2 separate regions of the Homo sapiens genome follow, and region 1 is linked to region 2. The links are contacts of gene promoters, found by promoter capture Hi-C in blood cells and fetal thymus (Javierre and others, 2016). All regions are on one chromosome and are shown on one strand. The core of a region is centred on a gene start or on the middle of the fragment in contact, and the rest is flanking DNA. Distances in the headings are between cores, read along the strand shown.

Region 1 (7,012 bases), core at 3,688-6,187, 58 kb after region 2:
ATTCTAACATTACTGATTTTTTTCTGTATTATGCACACAGTAGTCTTAGAGTAATGTTAAAGACTACCAAAGAAATGATTACAGAAAATTATTATTGCATATGTTCTATTAATTCTCCCATTTTAACAATAAATGTACTATTTTACACTGTCATTTTAAATATATTACTCCATTTTCTTCTGGCTTAAAGCACTGCTGTGAAAGTCTGGTGATCTTTTAATTTTCTTTCTCTTTTAAGATCTTTTTTTTCTAGATCCCTAAAGATTTATTTTTTCATTAAGGTCCAGTCATTTAAATAAAATATCTTGGTGTTCGTTGTTGTGCGACAGTATTCTCTTCTACATGGTGTGTTCTTTTTGGTACCTACACTTTTTTTTAATTGAGAAAGTAATACTAGTATTTGTATTCTTCCTTTGCATTGGTTAAGAACTCTTATTATTGGTATATTGGCTCTTCTTTGCCTTTCTTCAAGGATTTTTTAAAAATCTATATTTCTAAAAAAATTAACCTGCTTTTCACTTGTTTTTCTCTTTTCTCTTTTCTCCTGCTGTTTCTTTGAAGACACTATCTGTTATGTTTCTCTTTGTGTTTTCTGGTTTGTTTTTTATTTTGGAAATGATTTTTTTTCTTTTATCTCTTACTCTCTCCTGAGTGTTGAATCTTTGGTTCTCAGTTTTGCTTATTCTTATGTGTGTTCTTTTATGTCTTACATGACTTTCTTAATGTCTTTAGCTTGTTTTGAAATCATAGTTTACAGTTTTGATCTGTTTTGTTTGCACATTTTCCTGAGTGCTTACATTGTCTATAGGGATTTATTCTGCTTATTTTTTTTCTTGTAATAACTTTGTATAGGATTTGATCTTGATACTTTTGGTCATTTTTATATGAAATTGGCTTTCATAAACTTGCAGAATGTGGTGGAAATATTTTCTTGACTTCACAGAGCTCCTGCTTTTGTTTTTATGTAGTGTTCAAAAGATGAGGACCTGCTTTTTGATATTTCTTGGATCTCTTACCTTCCTTGGCTTGGTGTGGACCTTTTCTTTCTTCTGTTCTATTCTGCTCAGGTTTGATTCTTCCCAGTTTCTTCTCAGTGTGGGGAGCTCAGGCTTGATTCTTCTCAGTTTCTTCTCAGTGTGGGGCTTATTATAGAAGAGAGCCCTGGTGGGTCAGTTTCAAAAGCTTAAAGCTCAGAGGGACTAAATTGTTCCAACCCTTTCAGAACTTCTTATCATGGGCTCTTTGTCTTATCTGGTATTAGAGATGCCAGAACCTCTGTCAGTTGTAGCATTTGTGTGTGTGTGTGTGTATATTTCCAAATGAGTCTGCTCTGCTTTCCAGTGAATACCCGTTAGCTATTTTGGTATGATTTTGGTCTTAAGTTCATCAGTTGCCACCTTGTTGCTTTCTTCTTTCTGCCAAGTAGTACAGTGTTGTGGGTGTTAGTGATTTTTCTCTACCCACTTGCATTTTGGGGTTTGAGGGGATACCTTGTCACATAGTTTTGTTGTAAGTACAGTTGACCCTTGAACAACATGAATTTGAACTGTGTGAATCCACTTATGTGCAGATTTTCTTCTGCCTCTGCCACCCCTGAGATAGCAAGACCAATCCCTCCTCCTCGTCAGCCTACTCTTTGTGAAGATGAAGAAGAATGGAGACTTTCATGATGATCCACTTCCACTTAATGAATAATAAATACATTATCTCTTCCTTAACATTTTCTTAAACATTTTCTGTGGCTTAATTATAAGAATACATCAGGGACAGGTAGGTGACAGTGAAAAAATTATGTAATACATATGACATAAAAAAATCTGTTAATCACCTGTTCATAGTATTGGTGAGGCTTGTGGTCAACAGTAAGGTATTAATAGTCAGATTTTGGAGAGTCAGAAGTTATATGTGGTGTTTTGATTGCATAGGGGTTGGCATCCCTAACCCCCATGTTGTTGAAGAGTCAACTATTGTGCGTGGGATTTTGGTTTTCCTGTCTTGTTTCTCTGTATGTTTTTATGGGAATTTGAAGAGTATCAGAATGTATGCAGCCACTACCATCTTCTCAGAACCCTTACCATTAGTTTTTATGTCACTTCTATGGTCTCCTCCCATTCCATCTCTTTTCTTCCGCCTTCAGAAGTAACCATTATCTTCAACTTCATGATGCCCAGAGAAATAACTAGAAGCAATAAAAATGCTCATCCACAGAAGAAAAAATATGGATATTAATATAATGGCATTATCTAATAGAGTTTAAGAATCACTTTCCTAAAATAAATCTTTAAGCATATAACAAGAGAAAATGTTGCTTATGTACAGATATGTGCAAGAATGTTTTTAAAACACTATTTATAATAGGGAAAACTGGGAACAACTCTCTGTCAGCAGAGAAATGATGGATAAATTATGGCATATTAATTCTGTTACGGTAAATACTGGTGAAAATTAGTAATTATAACCACACACAATAAGAATAAATCTCAGGAATAGAGCTTAAACAGAAAAATACATATGATTCTATTTATAAAACCTTTAACAACTATATTGTTTATGGATATAAACATATGCTAAAACTACATAAAAAAGCTAAGATTTGTATTCAACATTATGTTACTAAGATTCATCTGTTTGTTTGTATGTAGCTGTAGAACATAACTTCCCCCTGCTGTATAGTCCATTATATTAATATCTATATTTTATTCTTTTGTTGATGGCAGTTTTCTTGGTTCTAGGTGTTTAGTTAGGCATTACAAAACAACAATAATAGCAATTACATAGCATTTACTGTGTCCCAGTTTTCTAAGTGTTTTGCTTATGTTATCTCACTTAAACCTGACAAGAACCCTGAGACGTAGGTATTATTTTATTCAATTACGTGTTAAAAAGCATGTAATTGAGGCATGGAGAGGTTAATAACTTGCCTAAGGTGTCACAGTTACTGAGTAGTTGAAGCTGGGATTCCAACCTGGCGCAGCTAGTCCTTTAATCTGTACTTACACAGTATATTGGTTTGTACTCTGGAAACAGGAATGTTACCTTTGTCTTCAGAGATCCTTAAATATAAAAAAATTATGGCTTAAAGACATAGTGTATTTTACTATTTTCTTTTTCAAAGTTTTCATATTTAGAACAAATTTGTAATCTTTGCTTCATTTGAGGTTTTTTTTTTTTTTTAGATGGGGTCTTGCTCTTGTTGCCTAGGCTGGAGTGCAATGGCACGATCTCAGCTCACTGCAACCTCCGCCTCCTGGGTTCAAGTGATTCTCCTGCCTCAGCCTCCCAAGTAGCTGGGATTATAGGCGCCCGCCACCATGCTGGCTAATTTTTGTGTTTTTTAGTAGAGATGGGGTTTCTCCATGTTTTGTCAGGCTAATCTTGAAGTCTTCACCTCGTGATCCTCCCGCCTTGGCCTCCCAAAGTGCTGGGATTACAGGCATGAGCCACCGTGCCCTGCCCATTTGATTTTAATTTGAGAGATAAAATGATGTTAGAAATGTTTTTAAACAAGCAAGCAAGGTAATCTTTAGTACAGTAGCTCATAGTGTATACATCTGGAAATTAGCACCATCTACTGGCAAAGAGAAACAATAACTTGGTATGTCATAGTATTGTGTACACTTTCATAGGTTTTATTTGTTTTGAAAAGCTGTTCCCGGGGGAAATAAATATTTTATAATTTTTTAGTATGTTTATTTTTGTTTCCTATATATTTTTCTTAAAATTCCAAGTATCAATTACTTATATATGGCACATTTGTGTAACCGAGACTACATTTAGATGAGGAAAAATACAACAAAAGGTATCATTTTATAGTTGTCATTCTGTCTGTATTTTTCAAAGCATGTACAAAAAATTTTCAATTTGTTGGAGTGATAAGAGCAAGAACAAAGCTGTCATACTGGACTAACATGAACTGTATTTAGTTTATCATTGTGTTTTGTCTTAGTTAAGTGATACTGTCTTCGATAGAGGAGTGGAATTGATAGTAGAGTGAAAACAGAGTTCTCAATGACTAAGCCTGGGAAGCTTCTCTCTGCCTAACTTTTTGTATATACCTAAATTCTACTCTCACTTTTTCTTAAACTGGTTGAGATTTCATTTGTTTGTGGCCTAGGGTCTTGTTTGTATCCCGTTTGAGACGTTTATTCTTTCGTTATTTTTTCTCTCCATTAACTTAACCTATAGTTAAATGTATGAGAAGTCAGTTGTTTTCTCATTCCACTTCCTCTCTCATTTTGTGATATGTTTTCTTTAGGCACTTTACAAGTTAAAGTTACCTTGGATATGATAATTTTAGTTAAAGGTGAAATTATGTTTACAGAAGGGTTACAAGGTTATTACCTAATAAGTGTTGGTTGAGGGATTTATTAAAAGAATTTTAAAGGCTAATTTGTTATAGAGCAGGAATGGTTGTTGAGTGTGCCATTGGTCTGATATGTTTACTTGTAAGTCTACTGAGCACAATAAACAATTGTTCTTTTGCCCTGTGGCTACTTAACTCTCAAATGAAAACAGTTTTTTTGTTTAAAATGTTAACTTATTGTAGGTGTGCTTTAGAAAGATCTGATTAAATAGAAGAGTTGCAATAATTGCAAATTTTTTAATGTCTTATACTATAATGTCACATAGTTGAATACCGAAGTCCAAGATTGCTATTGTAATAGTATAGGTTTTTAACTCACGTTAAAGTTAGGCTTAGTGTAAGGAATGAAAATGGGTCATTTATAACATTCTTTTGGTTGTTTTTCTGAATATTTTACTTTTGGGTGCTCATTACTGCTAAGGTGAAAACAAATCCCCCTTTCTTAATGTAATCTATAATAGATATAAAAATACATTTAAAAATTAAGTGTGTATACTTTTCCCCCATTACCTAACCAACTTCTTAGAAATTAGTTCTATATTCAAAGAGAGAACTATACAGACTTTCAAATTTTCTATGAATGTGTAAAAATTTTAAATCATACTAGTTGTTTTTAAAAATCTTATAGAACATGTACAATTTTAAAGCCATACAAATGGTCTTCAGAAATCTTTTTACTACTCTCAGATAGTTTATTCTTTTTTCTCAAACTCTTTAATTATCAACTAATGCTTTGATTTGCTGTATTTTGGATTTTGAATCCAGATTGACTGCTAATAAATGATTTAATTCAGGGCTACTTTTCATCATGCTGAGTTTTAGGTTAGAGGGTAACAAGATGAATGATTTCTGTCATCTAAGAACTATTGTAGTTCATTATGAGCATTATAGCCTTTATTTTATATTATAAAGAATAATGTATAAAGAGCTATTTTTAGGCATAGGAACCAATTGGTTTAGTTTTACAGAGCCATCAGAATGTAGTCTGAGCTGAGATGTTAAAATAAAATAAGAATCCCAAAGTCAATGACTATGGTAATATTTGAGTGGCACCTTGAAGAGTAGGAAGGAATTGGTAAGTGGAGATGAAGAAGAAAGGGTGCTTTAGGCTAAACAGACTATTGTATCTTTTTATTTAGTCGCTGAAGCAGTATTTTGGCAAACATTTCATATTTCATGAACATTGAAGAATTCTGACTTTATAAATCGTGAATTGCAATAAGATTAATAGCTTCTTTTAAAAGAGATATGATATTCTTTCATGCCATGTCTTTTATTTACCCCGTTAGAAAGAAGATATGTTCTACTTTAAGCACAAAATTGTCAGCCAGAGTATTTGGAGAATGGAGAGAAAAAAGCAGTATGTTTTCCAATAGATCTTACTGCTAGTATTCGAATAGATGCTTAGAACAAATGAAGTTTAAAAAAATAATTTACCATAGATGGGATGAATTATTTTTAATCACAGTTTAATTTGGTTAAAACTTAAGCTTAGTGAACTAAATTAAAGAACAGCTTCATATTCTTTCAGCTGTATAGAAATGTGTTTTTCCTTAATACAAATCTGCCTCCTTGTGAGCCGTCATGTACCTTTGTATAGATTGTAGTTTATGTCCTGCACAGTGGGGCACAGGTGAATATGTTATTTGAGATTGAAATGTAGCCCTTGCTTTTACCAAAGGACCCTTTCTCTAATTCATTTTCCCAGAGGACAAAGACACTGTGTAGGAGTTCCTACCCCTGGAAATGATTATACATTTGTTTTGTTACTGGATTCAGCACTTAGCTTCTAGAACAATATAGGCACAAATTAAGAGCTCACTAAATATTTCATATATCTATAAAGTATTCAGAAGTCCACAGTTTACATTCTTCTCTGATCATGACTTTTTGGCAGATGACATATGTTTCATGTGATTTAAAAAATTGCCTCCCTACCCAAGTTGTGCTTTTATTGAAATCAAGTTAAATGTTTATATGGAAAATTCCATTTGTTGTGTTTTGCCAAATTGTTGTTGCTGTTAGGTTAGATTTTAATTTCTGTTCTTCTGATTCCATTAATATATTAAAATGTTTACATTTCATTTTCAGGTATATTACATTTTTTTGCCCGCATGACCTAGTTTCCCAGGGCTATTCATATCTACCTGTTCAACTACTGGCTTCGGGAATGAAGGAAGTGACCAGAACTTGGAAAATAGTAGGTGGAGTCACACATGCTAATAGCTATTACAAAAATGGCTGGATAGTCATGATAGCTATTGGATGGGCCCGAGGTAATATTGACAATATGTGTTCATAAATATTCTGTTGTTGGTGTATTATTAATACCATTACTGAACAATTCTCTAGTTACATTAATGGATCACATACTTTAATAACAGAGACTTTTTGGAAGGTAAAAACCTTGTTTCTGTTGGCTGGTAAAGTTAATTCAAAACTAGTACTAGTCCTAAGCCATTATTTTGAGCCTGAGTGTCTTATGATAGAAAATTTTTATGATTGGTTTGATTAAGATCCCCAGAACCAGAAAGATTTATAGTTAATTAAGGTATAGTGCCTCTGTAAATAAAATAAGTTTACATAAGAAATTATGTGGTACATATGAATAAAAAATATTGCTCTGTCTTTTCTGTGTTTTTTTCATTC
Region 2 (6,677 bases), core at 297-2,796:
TTGGAGCCTGTGCTCTTGACCACCATGCATATGGTTCCACTGATGGCTGAGTTACGTGAAGACTCCTGTAGAGTCAGGGCTTGGAAAGGGAAGATCTCACCTGCTGTTTAAAGAAATAGGTAAGTAGAGAGTGGGGAGGAAATTCAAGGAACAGAAAATGACAATGTGCGAAAGTGTAGAGTTGGGAATATTCATGAGTCTTCGGAGGAACTAGAAAGGGCCCAGTGCCCAGAGGAGCTGAGCGTGGAGCAGGCAGCAGACCAATAGCAGTAAGCCAAGAACATCAAACTGCCTGGGGCTAGACTTGGGCTTGTTTGCCAGTGCCTCCCAAGTGTTCCTATTAGCACATGTTAATCCAAGCCACTTGAAAAAAGGGACTCTTGCCTCTAAGAGTGAAAAATGCCTGCATAATGCTCGGCAGTATGTGATGATAAACCACTCTCCTAGACTTGGAAAGGTCATCCAATGCAGCCCCAAAGAGGCCCAAGTATCTTCTACAGAATCCACGCCAAATCACCACTCCCACCTGCCCCTTGTCTTTTCATTTTTGCGAGACTAAATACCCCCACTTCTGTTCTTCATACACCAGGGTTTCAAGACCCTTCATCATTCTGTTCCTGCTCCTCTAAATATAGTCCAGTCTGGATATTTTAGTTCTTACAGAGAGGGGCTGAATCCTCCAGGTGAGGTCTGCCAGCTAACAAGAGAGCTGTATTGTCTTCTCTATTCCAAATTTTATTTTATTAACGAAACCTACAATCATTTTCTTTTTTTACTTCATTCTGATAATACATTGTTGATTCATATTCAACTCTCTGTTGGTGGCCGGGCATCGTGACTCACGCTTGCAATCCCAGCACTTTGGGAGGCCGAGGCGGGTGGATCACCTGAGATCAGGAGTTTAAGACCAGGCTGGCCAACATGGTGAAACCCCATCTCTACTAAAAATATAAAAACTAGCCAGGCGTGGTGGCAGGCGCCTATAGTCCCAGCTACTCCGGAGACTGAGGCAGGAGAATCGCTCAAACCCGGGAGCTGGAGGTTGCAGTGAGCTGAGATGGTGCCATGGCACTCCAGTCTGGGTGACAGAGTGAGACTCCATCTCAAAAAAAGAAAAAAACAAAAAACAAAAAACAAACTTTCTATTGGCCAAACATATGTTGCATTTATACATAAACTCAATCAATATTGTACCTGATTCTGAACAATTAGGAAGAGTTGGTTATAAAGGAAGAAACAGGAGTATTGGGACAAAGCAATCTTTCAACTGGAGGCTTCAAAACAGCCAGAGAGAAAAAGCTGAAGGGTGTTGTTCTTACCTTCCCCTGTTGTTTTTAAGTTAAAAAAAGAAATTATGCATAATTCATAGCGTCACTGATGCCTCGAAAGGTGAGAGGCATATGTTTGTGTCCCTGTGGGGTTGTTTTCTTTTTTAAAAACCTGAAAATGAGGAAATGAATCTCGTAAGCTCTGAGTCGAGAAAATCTAACATCTCAGGTTCTTGGCAGGACATGTGATACCAATCAGGCCTCTTATAAGATATTGGCCCTGAGGGCCCTTTCTCTTTCCATCTCAGGAACTCAAACATGACCAGGAAGATCTTCACAAATACCAGGGAGCGGTGGAGGCAGCAGAATGTCAACAGCGCCTTTGCCAAGCTGAGGAAGCTCATCCCCACTCACCCTCCAGACAAAAAGCTGAGCAAAAATGAAACGCTTCGCCTGGCAATGAGGTATATCAACTTCTTGGTCAAGGTCTTGGGGGAGCAAAGCCTGCAACAAACGGGAGTGGCTGCTCAGGGGAACATTCTGGGGCTCTTCCCTCAAGGACCCCACCTGCCAGGCCTGGAGGACAGAACTCTGCTTGAGAACTACCAGGTTCCTTCACCTGGTCCAAGCCACCACATTCCTTAGTGTGGCTCTGGCTGTCATCTCCCAGGGCAGCACTTGCCCAGAAATCACTGCCTGTGGACAGACTTTTGCATGTTCCAGAGTTGACCTGATGATAACTCGTGAAGCATGAATTCTAGCTTCCTGGGAGGTGGCTCAGAGACAGCTGCAGGGAGCTGAAAGAAGCCATGAGGAATGTCACTTGTGGGCCGCCACCCCCCAGGGATGTCAGGTAGAGCGGCCTACCTCTGCCTATTTTAAATCCAGGTTCTGCATAAGACTTTTGGAGAAAAAATTCTAAATAAAAAAAAAAAAAGGCTGAAAATCACTGTTTATACTCAATGTCTTCAGTTATAAGAAAGAAGTTTTCTCATAATGGATCTCAGATGAATAAGTAGAATATGCTTCCTTCAGAACATATTTTAAAGTTTGTTTTGAAAAATGAGATTTGATCAAGGGTGAACAAAATAAATCTTAAGATTGATGGGCCGGGCACGGTGGCTCACGCCTGTAATCCCAGCACTTTGGGAGGCTGAGATGGGCAGATCACCTGAGGTCAGGAGTTTGAGACCAGCCTGGCCAACATGGTGAAACTCCGTCTCTACTACAAATACAAAAATGAGCCAGGTGTGGTAGTGCGCACCTGTAATCCCAGATACTCAGGAGGCTGAGGCACGAGAATCGCTTGAACCCGGGAGGGGGAGGTTGCAGTGACCCAAGATCATGCCACTGCACTCCAGCCTGGGCAACGGAGCAAGACTCGCTCTCAAAAACAACAATAACAAAAAAAGTTTTCTCATAATGGATCTCAGATGAATGAGTAGCAGCATATGCTTCCCTCAGAACAGATTTTAAAGATGGTTTTGAAAAATGAGATGCATTTGATCAAAGGTGAACAAAATAAATCTTAAGATTGATGAATAGAAAGATAACCCCTGCAGAAACCAACCTGGGAGACTTGCGGGAAAAATCTGTGGAGAAAAGACACCCCCCGCCCCCCGCCCACTAAGGTGTGGGGATTACAGGAATGCAGCAGAGATATGTGGAACAGTTCTGTGTCCTTTCAACTCTGTAGAAGTGTGAGGTGCTACTTGTGCTGAGCCATTTGTACATATGTGACTTCTAAAGGCAAATAGTGGATTATATCTGTGAGACGAAACAACTGGATAATTTATGTGTTAGGGCTCGTAGTTTTCTTACGAAAAACAGTTAGCTGAAATAAGTTAGCTAAAGCCTTCACTTCACATGTCATGCATTAAAACGTTTCACTCAGCCTGAACTCCTGCTGATTCAAGACCTGTAAAATTCAATTATAATTATGAAAATCCAAACATTACCATTTAATGACTCATTTAACAGAGAGCTTAGTTTAAACAAAACATTTAGAGTAAACAATAGAAATGTAATACCAGACGCTAATGAACTAATGAATTTGTAATTTGTCTTCTTTGCTATGGCACATTAGCCTTCTCAAAAAGAAAAAAGTTTCTCATAATAGATCTCAGATGAATGAGTAGCATATGCTTCCCTCAGAACAGATTTTAAAGTTGGTTTTGAAAAATGAGATGTATTTGATCAAGGGTGATCAAGCTTAGTCTTAGGCTTGGAGGCCTGGTACCCAACAAGTCAGTGAAATAGCACGGATCTGGCAGAATCCATCACCATATGCCACCCTGATGATACTTGGAGTCAAAGATAAATCCTATAGTTGAACCTGGAATACAAATAATGTTATTTGATTATCTCTGGGACATTTTCCTTCCCCAAAGTTCTTGACAGTACATTGGTTTTAAAACCTTCTAAACCATACGTAGGAAACTGATGGATTTGAGATTAGGGATTTCCAGTATATACACAACAGAGGAATTTAAATTTCCTGCCACTCAGAAATAAGGTGTTTTACTTGTGAAAGGTTGAAATGAGCCTCCTTGGTCTGGTGATTGGAAGAAAGCTGGATGAAACTCTTACAATCTCATTCTCCCGAAATAGAAAGGTCATTATGTCATTAAATTCTATACAGCATTCACACTTGTAACACAATGCATTTATTTGAACCAGTAAGATTTCCTTCTAGGCCCTTTATTTAAACTGTATTTGGTAAACTTCCCCACGGACCCAGCATAGTCCAGGGAAACACATAAGAAAAGAGATCAAAATGGTTTTCCTGAATGTGCATTTTTTTTTTTCTCACTAGCTTATGTGGACACAAGCTTACCCCCAAATTACCAGGTGATAGTACATTTCAAAGTTTTGATGACAGTTGTCAATTAACATCACTTACTCTCTCATCTGAAATTAAATCAAAATAACACTTTTGACGGTATTTTTATATTAGCTTTGTTTCAACATGTTGCCAAGGAAAGCACAGAGTATCTCTTTGCCTAGATATAGGATTTTGCCCCTCTACCCAGGATGAGTCCACTTTTCTGCTGCTGGGGCCATGATCTGTGTCAAAGGGGGCCATGATCTTCGACAAAGAGGGCCTTTCCGCTGAAATGTAACAGAGTGCTCCTGAAAAGTCATGAGGAGATCAAGTTCTCATTAAACTATGTGAGGGGGAAATTATTTAAAGAAATTTGCAAATAATCCTATAATTAATAAATGAAACTTTAAATCATTAATTTATGTATTTCACCTCCTAAATGATTTCTTTTGCCTGCTTGCATTTTTGTACACCAAGTCATGTTTGGTTAAAGTGACTGTTACGTCAGGTGTGTTGGCATGTGCCTGTACTCCCAGCTACTCGGGAGGCTGAGGCGGGAGGACTGCTTGATATTAGGAGTTTGAGGCCAGCCTGAGCAACATAGTGATACCTGTCTCAAAGAAAAGAAAGAAGGAAAGAGAAAAAAAAGAAGGTGTCTGCCAAAAAGAAAATATAGTCAATTGTGGACCAAAACCTTGACAAGGTATCCATGAGACTGGAAGCTAACTCAAAAATCATTCTAGAGTCTTCTCTGGTGTCCTATACTTAAGGCTTGGTGATGGCAGTAGCAAGAATTTATGATTCAAAAACATTACGGTTCACTGGATGGTACATCTGTTTATAGATCATTTGAGCCCAACAGAATAGTTTGAACAGATTATATAACCTATGCTACTCTGTAACTTAAACAAAAGTGTTTGGCGGTGGGCACCGTGGTTCACACCTGTAATCCCAGCACTTTGGGAGGCTGAGGCGGGAGGATCACCTGAGGCCAGGAGTTCGAGACCAGCCCAGCCAGCATGTTGAAACCCCATCTCTAAAACAATTAGCTGGGTGTGGTGGCGGGCGCCTGTAATCCCAGCTACTCAGGAGGCTGAGGAGAAAGAATCGCTTAAACCTGAGAGGTGGTGTTTGCAGTGAGCTGAGATCGCACCACTGCACTCCAGGAGACAGCAAGACTCTGTCTCAAAAAAAAAAAAAAAAAGTGTTTAGTCTGCTATGGACACCACTAGAAACTTCTAGAAACCAGGTATAAACAGGTCCATTGATTCATATAGATCATTTGATGGTCTAATGCCGGTCCCTCATTTTACAGAGGAGAAAATGGTTCTAGAGGGATTTGAAGTGACTGTCCAGAGGCCACATGCGCAGTTAGTGGAAACCCAGGACCCAGATCTAGGTCTGCAGACACTGTGTTTAGCCTTTCTACGGCCCTGTTCAGCCACCAAGTATTTTAGGATTGAAAATGAAAAAGCACCTTATCATTATGCTTGTCTCTTTTCAATAGCATTCAGTAATCTTCTTCATATGTCTTTTTACTGAAATTAAATTATTGTACTTTGTAAAATGTGATTAGATATATCAACCAAAGATTTTATTTGTTGATGTTTTGTGAGTTTTTAACCATTGACTATAATTTGTTATTTAACTGTTAATTTATTGCAAATAAATTATTTAAGAAAACAAATTGTTCATTTAAAGAAAAATTTCATAAATTTACTAAGCACATTCACCCCTTCTCTCATCTTCACAGCCACTATCCTGGCTTTGACATGTCCCCCCACCCCCCACCAGCTCCCCCGTGGTCTTTAGTATAGAAAAAAACCCAGCGTCACCTGAAATCAGTCTTCTTCCTCTTCATGTCACTTTTCTCACAGCTCCCTAATGGTCCTTCTCAAATCACGGCTGTAGTCATATCACTTCTCTGCTACAAAACCTTCAGTATCTTGTCTACCAGATTGAGACAAATGCCATACCCTAGCAAACCAGGCCCTCTGCATCCTGGCCCCAGTGTGTCCTTCCCTTCACCCTCCACAATGCCTATACGTATGGTACATGCCAATGAAACTACTTTAGTTAAAGATCCCCAAACATGCCCACTCTTTTTTACTCCTGACTTTACTCCTGTGATGCCAAAGGCTTGGATTAATGCTCCCATTCTCACTTGTTCTACTCGCCCCTCCACCTGTGCCAAATTCCACATGGCTGATCTTTTTTCTTCTGGTTGGAGTGCAGTGGCACCATCACTACAGCCTCAAACTCCTGGGCTCAAGGGATCCTCCTGCCTCAGCCTCCTGAGTAGCTGGGACTACAGGTGCATGTCACCACACTCGGCTAAAAATTTTTTTATTTTTTATTTTTTTTGTAGAAATGGTCTTGCCATCTTGCTCAGGCTGGTCTCAACCTCTTGGGCTCAAGCAATCCTCCTGCCTCAACCTCCCAAAGTGCTGGGACTACAGGCATGAGCCACTGCACCAGCCCATGGGATCTTAAACACCATCTCTTACATGAAGTCCTCCTAGATTTCTACTACTTAATCTAACCTCTCTTTCCTTAGAATCCCCTTATATGCTTTATGATCCTTA

The links. The method cuts DNA at HindIII sites, captures the fragments that hold promoters and counts their contacts. A CHiCAGO score of 5 or more calls a contact.
Region 1: a fragment that was not itself captured here is called in contact with the fragment with the promoter of TAL2 in region 2 in 1 of 17 cell types (naive B cells); the score reaches 5.2 in naive B cells.

Annotation. Positions count from the first base shown.
Region 1 is chr9:105,715,083-105,722,094 of GRCh38, forward strand. It overlaps TMEM38B (transmembrane protein 38B), which reads left to right. Exons shown (of 6, transcript NM_018112.3): 3 at 6,455-6,639. Among named protein-coding and RNA genes, the nearest start is that of TMEM38B, 24 kb to the left of the region's middle. The HindIII fragment of the contact is 1,827 bases long and covers 4,025-5,851 here.
Region 2 is chr9:105,660,911-105,667,587 of GRCh38, forward strand. It overlaps TAL2 (TAL bHLH transcription factor 2), which reads left to right and starts at 1,547. Exons shown (of 1, transcript NM_005421.3): 1 at 1,547-2,214. The coding sequence starts at 1,587. The coding sequence ends at 1,913. RefSeq lists an enhancer at 1,574-1,663. The HindIII fragment of the contact is 4,889 bases long and covers 1-3,477 here.